Linked DNA regions of Homo sapiens: region 2 is linked to region 1. The links are contacts of gene promoters, found by promoter capture Hi-C in blood cells and fetal thymus (Javierre and others, 2016). All regions are on one chromosome and are shown on one strand. The core of a region is centred on a gene start or on the middle of the fragment in contact, and the rest is flanking DNA. Distances in the headings are between cores, read along the strand shown. Region 1 holds the start of H2BC4 (H2B clustered histone 4). Region 2 has its middle 16 kb from the start of H2BC11.

Region 1 (6,138 bases), core at 3,619-6,118:
CGAATGCTTACTTGTGTTTCTCTGTAGCTATAGTACTTGATAGAGTCAGAGCTGTTTGGATTAACCATAGCCCTTAAACAAAGCAGGCAATTGTGTTCCCGCATAGGCATGACGAAAACAGAGGCAGTCATCCAAAACCTGCATGGTCCTCTACGCCCACACGTATACAGTACGTGATTTACAAATCTAAAGTGGCGAAAGCAACAGTATCTATTCTAAGGCAATCATATGTTCTCTTATCTGTTTATCAATGGTTATTCTAAACTGTGTAAAAATGTTATTTGCATAAAACTACACTGTTTCTTGTGATTTGTATTTTGTACCCTCCAATTTAGAAATTGTCCAGGTATCCAAAGATTGAGAATTAATTTACTCAATTTAATAATATTCACCTAAATTCTTAAAGTTATCATACACTGTGAACTCAGTACTTAAGCTCACACATTGAATCCTTATAATTAGTAACATAAAATTTAATTCCATTTTTAAAAATGACATTATCTATTATCATTTAATTTGGTTCAATGAATAATTTACAATTTTAGAATAATAAATAAAGTGATGTTAACTCATGTAACCAGTACAACTAGTGGAAGAAATTTAGTAAATGCAAGTTAAATTAGCTTTTGTTTTTGTTTTTTAGAATATGAACCCTAAACTTGTGTATACTATAATATTCTGCTAATATTATTTTTACAGTATAAGAATAAAGAAGCCATTTTTAAAATGAAATTATTAAGCCAATTTGTCCAAAAAAAATCTTGATTAGATGTATTATATATTTTCCTTATTAAAAAAACCTAATAAAAGAGGTATTAATATTTTTAAGTTATTTAAAAATTGTGAAGTATTTTTTTTACAAAATACTTTAAGCTGTTAACTAAGACCACTAATGAAACTCACAGTTAAACTTTTTTTCTCTTAATTAGAACTTAAAGAGGTAGCACATTTAAAGCACAAGGAAAATTTTTGATTTTTTTTTAGACAAATGAGTTTTTATTTAAATTGATGTATTTTAAGTCTTTATGTAAGCCAACTAAAATTTAAGATTACATTATAATTTATTAATTCCCTTAAGTGGATAATTTCACAATTATTTAAATTCATAAAATAAGATAGTCTTTTCTGGGCACGGTGGCTCACGCCTGTAATCTCATCACTTTGGGAGGCCGAGGTGGATCACCTGAGTTCGAGACCAGTTTGGCCAACATGGCGAAACCCCATCTCTACTAAAAATGCACAAATTAGCCAGGCGTGGTGGTGCACCTGTAATCCCAGCTACTGGGGAGGCTGAGGCAGGAAAATTGCTAGAACCCTGGAGGCAGAGGTTGCAGTGAGCCGAGATTGTGCCACTGCACCCCAGCCTGGGCCACAGAGCAAAATTCTGTCTCAAAAAAAAAAAAAAGATAGTCTCAATCTTATTGCCAATTAGGAAAGCTAACCGTGCTAATAGAACAGAATTTAAAGTGGGTAAAAACAGAGCCATAGGTTATCTATTTAGCATGTTGATCAGTTAAAGAAATAAAAGTATGTAATTAAGATCAGAAGTCCCTCAGGTGGCACCACTGCTGAGAATATGAATAATTCTGATTCTCAGTTTAGAAGAAAATTCTAGTTTCCTAGTTTCCAGCATCACATCCCTTACAATAAACTCGTTAAGGTTTAGAAAATATTAAATCTTTGTTTTATTCAGATATTGAAAGCACTCTTTTTTTTCCCTGACTCAATAGTCCAATTTGTAACAACATTATGTTTCTTCTGTCCTCTAACCTTACTTAAAGAACGTGAAGGGGCAATAATGTGAAATTACTAAAATTAATAATAAGCTGTAGAGCCTCTGCCATAGCAGTTATTGAGACCAGACATTCGGTTTCCTTGATTTCCTTTTTGTCTCCTGTTAGTCCTAACACTTTCTTAAAGTCAAAAGTTATAACAGGGCAGCCATTTTATATTCATATCATCTTAACACAGGAATACTGGTTTTGCAGATATCGACAACTATTTGGACTCAAAAAAGACAAGTTTTGGAAGGTGGAAAGAGGCATACAAGCACAAAACATCAAATCCCATGTAAAGTCAGAAAGAAAAACACCAACTCTAACCCTGTGTCCTCACAGAGAATATCAACATCTTCAAACAAAAACACCCCAAAAAAAGGTTAATAAATAAACCAGATTTCCTGTCCTCTCCACTGACTAATCACTTAATGATGTGACCAGAAAACCAGAATTCAAATTCTACTACTGCCACCAATATGCAACCAATCAGCCAAGTCCAATTAGAATAACCAAAACAAACAAACGCGGACGATAAACTTTTAGCATGCAAAAGCCAAAGGAAAGTGAACAGAAAACTCAAAGGGTCCAGGGATAGACAACCTGTTTCCAAGACACACATTTCTGTTGGTTCTTATTGTATGACTCACATAAACACTGTCTTGGTGGAAAATTCAGAAATAAATGACCAAGAAGTTAATAATTTGCTTACTGGGTACTTGTACAGAAGAGAGAACAAGCAATAGAATTATTTCATCTAACACAGGCAAAAACATAATCTATGTAAGAGAAAGGGGAAAAGGCGGGGAAAGAATACTGAATTTTGTTTGCAGATTTTGGTTACACTGATTAGTTAGTTGGCAGGTAGGAGAGCGGTCAGTCTGAATGGGAATAAGTGACCAGGTCCATTAGAGGCATAGAAAAAAAAAAAACCATTTAGGCCCGGCGCGGTGGCTCAAGCCTGTAATCCAGGACTTTGGGAGGCCAAGGCGGGCAGATCACCTGATGTCCGGAGTTCGAGACCAGCCTGACCGACATGGAGAAACCTCGTCTCTACTAAAAATACAAAATTAGCCAGGGTGTCGTGGCGCATGCCTGTAATCCCAGCTACTCCGGAGGCTGAGGCAGGAGAATGGCTTGAACCCGGGAGGCGGAGGTTGCTGTGAGCCAAGATCGCGCCATTGCACTCCAGCCTGGGAAACAAGAGAGAAACTTCGTCTCAAAAAAAAAAAAAAAAAAGAAAAAAAAATTTACTTGTGAGGGACTCTGGAAATTTCATTTCTCATCAGAATTTCTCAGATAAGTTATCTAGGCAAGGCAGCCTGTGATTGCACAGCAGTGTTCAAGTATAAGGCCTTGTCTGGCACCAAAGACAGGCCTTAGTTTATTTCCCAGGTGTGAAAGAAATTGCAGATTTAAGATCACACAGTCCTTATGTTAAATAACTGTAACCTAAATTACATGGTATTTAAGTTTGTAAAAATCTGCTTTAACACTAATTTTATTTATTGTATATTCCCGGTTTTTAATGGAGAAAGCAAACTTCTAGGTGCTAAAAACGTGTTCTAGACTTGAATAAAAAGATAGGTAGACTACGTCTAACCCTTCATCTTAAAATCTTTACCTGGAAAAGACCATGAGTAAAATACTTAAGGGAATGTGGAATTTCCCAGGCCACAAAGCGGCCTGCAGTTGTCTAGGAAGGGAGAGTCCTCTAGGAGATACAGTGTATGTGCTAAGTTTAATGACGTCTCCTCTTCATTCTCCCCCACCCAGCGCCTAGTCCTTACTGGCCTTCAGTTCAGTGTTCGAAGGCTTGTCAATTTACCCAGCAGTTAAGAGTTGGCTTCTCCTAAAGCAACTTTCAAACTTGTCTGCATGTTACAAGCCCCCTACGGAGATTTTAAGTTTCAATCAGGCAACACACCATTTATGGCTGACTGAGCACTGGGATTCAAGCAAAATTTGATTTGATTTGAATCTTGAATAAACCAGTTGAATAGAATAAGATGTATGAAGCAACATCTGGCGCAGTGCTTACATCTTTAGTTCTGTACTGCCTTAGTGTTGTTATCAAAACTGACGCATATTAGGTTAAAAGACTATTACCGGGGCAGTTGGAAACCCAGGAGACACACCCTTCAGTATACTACGAAGGTGTGCGCCACGAAAACAGAGGGGGAGTCCTTCCTTAGGCAGTTACTGCCCAGGTTCCCACTCCGGTCCGCTATGTAAATCAGAGTCTCAAAACAGCTTTCCCTCGATTGGTTAATATTTAAAATGACAGGACAGCCTATTGGCTAGAAGCTGGTGGCGAAATTATGACATTACGGCAACCGTTGATCCTGGCGACGTAGACAGGGACAGACAGCTGGGTCTGAAACCTAAGCGAGCCTGCGGTTTCTTCCGGGAACGCCGAGTTAGCAAAATGGCCGCTTGTCTCCATTTTAAATTTAAGCACAACGAATTGACCCCAAAGCCATTTTTAATGGCTGGCTTCTTTCGGGTTCAGGACCCTTTGTCCCTCTCTAAGCTGCAACACTTGTCCCCACCCCTCTCCAGTTCCTATATTCTAATACCCCTCCGCCGCCAAATAAAATTTGGCGTCTGGCCACAGCTCTTTTAGTGGGTATCTGGGTGGCTCTTAAAAGAGCCTTTGGGGTTAGGTGTTAAGACGCTTACTTGGAATGTTTACTTGGAGCTGGTGTACTTGGTGACGGCCTTGGTGCCCTCCGACACGGCGTGCTTGGCCAGCTCTCCGGGAAGCAGCAGGCGCACGGCCGTCTGGATCTCCCTGGAGGTGATGGTCGAGCGCTTGTTGTAATGCGCCAGGCGGGAAGCCTCGCCCGCGATGCGCTCAAATATGTCGTTAACGAAAGAATTCATGATGCCCATGGCCTTGGAAGAGATGCCAGTGTCGGGATGGACCTGTTTCAGCACCTTGTACACGTACACAGAGTAACTCTCCTTGCGGCTGCGCTTGCGCTTCTTGCCATCTTTCTTCTGCGCTTTGGTCACTGCCTTCTTGGAGCCCTTCTTCGGGGCGGGAGCAGACTTGGCTGGCTCAGGCATCTTAAAACACCAGAAATGTGTCGAAAGTAAAGAGCGGATTTCTGCTACTTATAGGGCTTTTATGCTAATGAGGGATGGAGAGTACCTCTTAGTTAATTGGAAGACAAACTGCACAGTTGTCATCCGTGGGCAGAGCTATGCAAATGAGGTATGAAAGTACAGCTTTTCTATTGGCTATCTGACTAGCATTTGCTACCGACCAATCAAAAAGTCGGATTTACTCCCCAGGAACTACCTATAAAAGCGGCCATGTTTTACATATTTCTTGATTTTGTTTGTTTTCTCGTGAGCTTAGGCCGCTGGTTTTGGTGATTTTTGTCTGATTGCAATGTCTGGACGTGGTAAGCAAGGAGGCAAAGCTCGCGCCAAAGCGAAATCCCGCTCTTCTCGCGCTGGTCTCCAGTTCCCGGTGGGCCGAGTGCACCGCCTGCTCCGTAAAGGCAACTACGCAGAGCGGGTTGGGGCAGGCGCGCCGGTGTACCTGGCGGCGGTGTTAGAGTACCTGACCGCCGAGATCCTGGAGCTGGCCGGCAACGCGGCTCGCGACAACAAGAAGACTCGCATCATCCCGCGCCACTTGCAGCTGGCCATCCGCAACGACGAGGAGCTCAACAAACTGCTAGGCCGGGTGACCATTGCTCAGGGCGGCGTCCTTCCTAACATCCAGGCCGTGCTTCTGCCTAAGAAGACCGAGAGTCACCACAAGGCCAAGGGCAAGTGATTTGACAGGTATCTGAGCTCCCGGAAACGCTATCAAACCCAAAGGCTCTTTTCAGAGCCCCCCTACCGTTTCAAAGGAAGAGCTAACCTCACTGCTTGTAGGTAGAAGGAAAAAAGGCACTAAGGTAAGTTAATTTTATGCCAACCTTGAGCAAAGCGTATTACTGCTTTTCGGTTTTTGGGGAGCGCTGTTACTAAAGGTTGGTCTGTTTGTATGTAATAGTAGGTCAGTTACGTACTATCATACTCTAAAGAAATATTCTAGTTAATGCTTTGTAAGATCGACCATAGTTAGTGCCTAACAGTTTACATGCAGGGATGCCTCGTGATCTAAACACTTCGTTGTGATTACTTTAAAAATGTAAATTGAAGGCAAAACTCTAACGTGTTGGTAACCTTGTTTGGTCCTCCGACTAGTCCCCCGTCTATTTTTTTCTCAATTTAGGCTGTAGGCAGCCTCACTTTCCTAATTCTGTGAGAGTTATAGGTCCCATTCCTGCTAAAGTGCAGAGTATATTACCTAAAAGTTAACCAGGGAGTTGAAAGGTGTCTGTAAAACAGACTAATGTCC
Region 2 (5,381 bases), core at 859-3,358, 990 kb after region 1:
TGGGACTTAACCCTGGAGGGCTTTTGGCTTCAGAGTTAATTTAAAAACACTTCCTAGACCAATAGTGTACAGCAAACTGCTCCATAAACAAAGGGCGACCTGTGTGCTAACCCACAGGCAGCACAGCCTGTAGTAGTAGTATACAGAAAAGTGGGTGCTCCACAGAGCACAAGCTAACCCACAGGCAGAGCAGCCAAGTAGCAGCATGCAGCAAAGTGGGCGCTCCACACAGCACAAGCTAACGCACAGGCAGAGCAGCCCAGAGTAGCAGCATGCAGCATAATAGGTGCTCCACAGAGCAAGGCTCACCCATAGAGCATCCCAGAGTAGCAGCATAGTACAGCAAAGCGGGTGCTCCACAAAGCAAGGCTAACCCATAGGCAGAGAAGCCTACAGCAACTGTGTACAGCAAGGTGGATGCTGCAGAAAGCACAACTAACCCACAGGCAGAACAGCCCAGAATAGCAGTGTACAGCAAAGTGGATGCTCCACCAGTAGAACAGACAGGAAGGGCAGGAGCAGTGTTCAGCAACAGGAGCAGTCCAGAGCAGGAGTCAGAGCAGGAGCCAGAACTGAAGAAAGAGCCACAGTAAAGCACACAGGCTAGCTATATTTATACCCACTATTAATTATATGCTAATTAAGTAGTGTGTTATTCAGAATTTTCTAGAAAAGGGGTGGGGGGAGCTCCCAGAACCCTATAGGGTAACTTCTGAGTCATGTCCATGGCATTTGTAAACTGTCATGGCGCCGATGGGAGTGTCTTTATTCTAATGAGCTGTGAGGGCAACTAGAGGTTGCTTTGTCACCATCTGCTGGTTTCAGCCAGCTGTTTTGTTTTGTTTTGTTTGAGACTGAGTCTGGCTCTATTGCCCAGGCTGGAGTGCAGTGGCTCGATCTTGACTCACTGCAACCTCCACCTCCCGGGTTCAAGCAATTCTCATGCCTCAGCCTCCCTAGTAGCTGGTATTACAGGTGCATGCCACCATGCCCAGCTAATTTTTGTATTTTTAGTAGAGATGGGGTTTCACCATATTGGCCAGGCTGGTCTCGAACTCCTGACCTTAGGTGATCTGCCCACATCAGCGTCCTGAAGTGTTGTGATTACAGGTGTGAGCCACTGCACCCAGCCAGGGTTTTTTGTTTTTGAGACAGGGTCTTGCTCTGTCGCCCCAGCTGGAGTGCAGTGGCACAATCGTAGCTCACTGCTGCCTTGATCTCCCAGGCTCAAGCAATCCTCCCACCTCAGCCCCACAAGCAGCTGAGACTACACATGTAGGCCACCATGTCTCGCTAATTTTTTTTTAACTTACATTTTTAGGGATGGAGTTCTCACTATGTTGCCCAGCTGATATCGAACTTCTAGGCTCAGGGGATCCTCCCACCTCAGCCTCTCAAAGCACTGGGATTATAGGTGTGAGCCACCACTCTGCTGAGGTTTTTTTGTTGTTTTTTTTTTACTGCATCCTGTTTTTGATCAGCATGGTCATTACCGGTGCTTGGAAAAGAAGTCCTGCTGATCTCCTACCTCACTTTGGAAAATTCTTTTCAAGATTAAGTATATGACTATTTATAAAGAACTTAGTACAGTGAGACCAATGATCAATTATTTAAAGTTGTTTTACTCTTGTTAGTGTCATTATTAAATTTTTTAATTCTTTTCATTATTCCGTATCCCATGTTGTTGTATTTTCACAGTGAATATGAGTCTGCATCCAGTTATGGCCAATGACTTCATATTCTTTTGTGATCTATGGAGTTTCAGATGTGAGTACATTCAGACAAGACAAGACCATCACAAACCACTGAGATATATTCATCTCTGCTGCTTGTGACCTGGGGTCCTCCTTCTTCCCCTCTGACTGCCACTATTGGGAGGCAGAAGTAGGAAGAACAACAGAATGGGCTGTGGGTGTAATTTTATCATTTTTTTTTAGAATTACTTTTTTTTTTTTTTACATTTTTGCTTTTAAAAATAGTTTTGCTAAAGTATAATTGGCATATGATAAACTGCACATAAAGTATACATGTTAATGAGTGTGACATAAGTATTCATATGAACCCGTTACCCTAATCAAGACACTGAACTTGCTGGGCACAGTGGTTCACGCCTGTAATCCCAGCACTTCAGGAGGCCGAGGCGGGCGAATCACCTGAGGTCAGGAGTTCGAGACCAGCCTGACTAACATGGTGAAACCCCATCTCTACTAAAAATACAAAAATTAGCCGGGCATGGTGGCATATGCCTGTAATCCCAACTACTCAGGAGGCTGAAGCAGGAGAATCACTTGAACCCGGGAGGCAGAGATGGCAGGGAGCCAAGATCACGCCATTGCACTCGAGCCTGGGCAACAGAGCAACACTCTGTCTCAAAAAAAAAAAAAAAAAAGTGAACTTATCACCTCTAAAATGTACTTGTCCCCCTTTGTAATACCTTTCTCCTATCTCACTTTGTCCCCCAACTCAAAGGAACCACTGATCTAACCTTTGTCACTGTAGATTAGTTTGTATTTTCTAGTTTTGTAAAAATAGAATCCAGTATGTACTGTATTTTGATCAGTTTCTTTTACTCAGCATAATTATTTACTCAGCAGTCCTTGCTGGTTTCATGATGTAAGTGGTCGTGTGGGGAAAGTCCACATGGCCAGGAGCTTCAAGCTCCTCTAGGAAGTGCGGGCAGCCTCTCAGAATTAAAGGCGTCTTCCAGCCAGCAACCAGCAAGAAGCGGGTGTCCTCATACCTAAAGCTGCAAGGAAATGAATTCCGCCAACAACCTGAGTGAGCTTGGACATGGATTCTTCCCCAGTCAAGTGTCTAGATGAGAATGCATCCTGGTGGGACACTTCAATTAGTCTTGTGAGACCCTAAGCAAAAGACCTAACTAAGTCATGCCCAGACTCCTGATCATTTATTATCCTGAGATAATAAACGTATGTTGTTTTGAGACCCTGAAGTTTGTGCTAATGTATTTTGCAGCAACAAAAAACTAACATATTTTAGGCTGGGCACAGTGGCTAACACTGTAATCCCAGTGCTTTGGGAGGCCTAGGTGGAAGGATCACTTGAGACCACTAGTTCAAGACCAGCCTGGGCAATAGTGAGAAACTGCACCACCCCCCCACAACCCCTCGTCTCCACAAAAAAATTTCTAAAAATTAGCTGGGTGTGGTGGCACACACTTATAGTCCCAGCTACTCAGGAGGCTGAGGCAGGAGGATGGTTTGAACCCAGAAGTTCAAGGCTACAGCGAGCTATGATTGCACCACTGTGCCCCAGCCTGGGTGACAAAGTGAGACTCCATCTCAAACAAAAAGAAAAAGAAGAGTAACATATTTTGAATCAACAGTTTGTTTCTTTTGTTGCTTAATAGTATTTCTTTGCAGGGATATACCACAATATTTTAGCCATTCATCTATTGATGAACATTTGGATTATTTCCAGATTTAACTAATACAAATAAAGCTGCTATGAGTATTTTTGTACAAATCTTTATATGGACACATATTTCCTTTTCTCTTGAGTAGATACCTAGAAGTGCCATGGCTGAATCATATGGTAGTATGATTAACAACATTAGTTATATGATTAACTTTTTAAGAACCTGTCAAAATGTTTTCCATAGTATTTACATGCATAGGACAAATTTATAAGAGTTCCAATTCCGCTATGTCCTTTCCAATACTTCACCCTCAGTCTTTTAAATTTTAGGCATTCTAATAGATGTGTAGTGGTATTTGATTGTGATTTTAGTTTGCATTTCCCAAATGACTGATATTCAAAGTATTTTCCTGTGCTTATTTGCTAACAATATGTTTTCTTTGAAGTGTCTGTTCATATCTTTTGCCCACTTATTTAATTGGGTTGTTTATCCTCTTAGTGTTGAGAGTACTATATTAAGTATTGTTCATTCTGGATACCAGTCCTTTATCAGGTAAGTGCATTTATAAGTATTTCCCCGAGTTTGTGGCCTGATTTTTCATTTTCTTAACACTGACTTTCAAAGAGCTATTTTTAATTTTGAAGAAATCCAATGCATGTTTGTTCTTTTATGAATTCTGCTGTCATATCTAAGAAATCTTTGCCTAATCCAGTGTCATAAAAATTTCTTACATTTTCTTGTAGAGGTCTTGTAGTTTTAGGTTTTATGTTTAAATGTATGAACTGTTTTAATTTTTGCAAGGTATAGACACAAGTTCATATATATATATAACATATTATATATATATATATTTTGCATGTGGATATTCAATTTTTCTAACACTACTTTTTGAAAAGACTATCCTTTCCACCAGGATGCCTTTGGGCCTCTTTCAAACATCAGTTGTTTATATACATGTTGGTTTGTTTCTGGATTCTCTATTGTGTTCCATTGACCTACTTGCCTATCTTACAACCATACCATGCTGTCTGGCTTTCTGAAGCTTTATAATAATTCTGTGAAATGAGGTAGTTGATAGCCATCCAGGTTTGTTCTTTTTCGGAGTTGTTTTGGCAACTGTAGATCCTTTTCATTTCCATATTAATTTTGGAATCAGATTGCCAATTTCTGCAAAGAAACCTCCTGGGTTTTGACTGGGTTAGTGTTGAATTTGTGTATTCGTTTGAGAATAATTGTTATCTTAACAATACTGAGTTTTCTGGCCTATAAGCAAGTTTTATCTCTCCAAGTATTAAAGTCTTCTTCAATTTCTCTCAGAAATATTTTGTAGTTTTCAGTGTATAGATATTTCACATCTTTTCTCAAACTTATCCCTAAGTATTTCATATTTTAGTTTTATTATAACTTTTTAAACATTTCTGATTGTTACTAGTATATACAAATGCAGTTTTTAATATTGATCTTGCATCCTACAGCCTTTCTGAACTCAACCATTAACTCTAGTAGCTTTTTGTACATTCTGATTTTCTACATGAGATGGCCATGTCATTTGAGAATAATAAGTGCTATCTTCACAATTTAGATGATTCTTCTTTCCTTCCATTGTTCCTTCTTTTCTTTCCTCTTTCTTTTTTCCCCTAATTTCACTAGCTAGAATTTCCAACATTGAATAGAAGTGGTGAAAGCAAACATGACTATCTTGTTTACGACCTTAGGGGGAAAACATTCAGTCTTTAAGTATAATCTTAGTTGTAGATTTTTTGTAAATACACTTTATCACATTAGGAAGTTCTCCTCTATTTCTAGTTTACTGAGAGTTTTCATCAGTAATGAATGTTGAATTATGTCAAATGCTTTTTCTGCCTTATAGTGTGACAGTCCTCCACCAGCTTGCTTAAGGGTGATATCTGCTACTTGAACCCTGAAGGCTGGGTGATAAGCCAAGACCATGGTACCCAGCTGAGGAGCAGGTATCCCTGAGAACCCAAACATCCCAGAGAGT

The links. The method cuts DNA at HindIII sites, captures the fragments that hold promoters and counts their contacts. A CHiCAGO score of 5 or more calls a contact.
Region 2: a fragment that was not itself captured here is called in contact with the fragment with the promoter of H2BC4 in region 1 in 1 of 17 cell types (monocytes); the score reaches 5.9 in monocytes.

Annotation. Positions count from the first base shown.
Region 1 is chr6:26,119,058-26,125,195 of GRCh38, forward strand. It overlaps H2BC4 (H2B clustered histone 4), which reads right to left and starts at 4,869. Exons shown (of 1, transcript NM_003526.3): 1 at 4,410-4,869. The coding sequence starts at 4,847. The coding sequence ends at 4,467. It overlaps H2AC6 (H2A clustered histone 6), which reads left to right and starts at 5,115. Exons shown (of 1, transcript NM_003512.4): 1 at 5,115-5,633. The coding sequence starts at 5,176. The coding sequence ends at 5,568. RefSeq lists enhancers at 2,976-3,660, 3,661-4,346, 3,794-4,993, 4,042-4,781, 5,025-6,138 and 4 more and a silencer at 4,653-5,018. The HindIII fragment of the contact is 15,442 bases long and covers 1-6,138 here.
Region 2 is chr6:27,114,555-27,119,935 of GRCh38, forward strand. No RefSeq gene overlaps it. Among named protein-coding and RNA genes, the nearest start is that of H2BC11, 16 kb to the right of the region's middle. RefSeq lists an enhancer at 657-756. The HindIII fragment of the contact is 4,621 bases long and covers 1-4,419 here.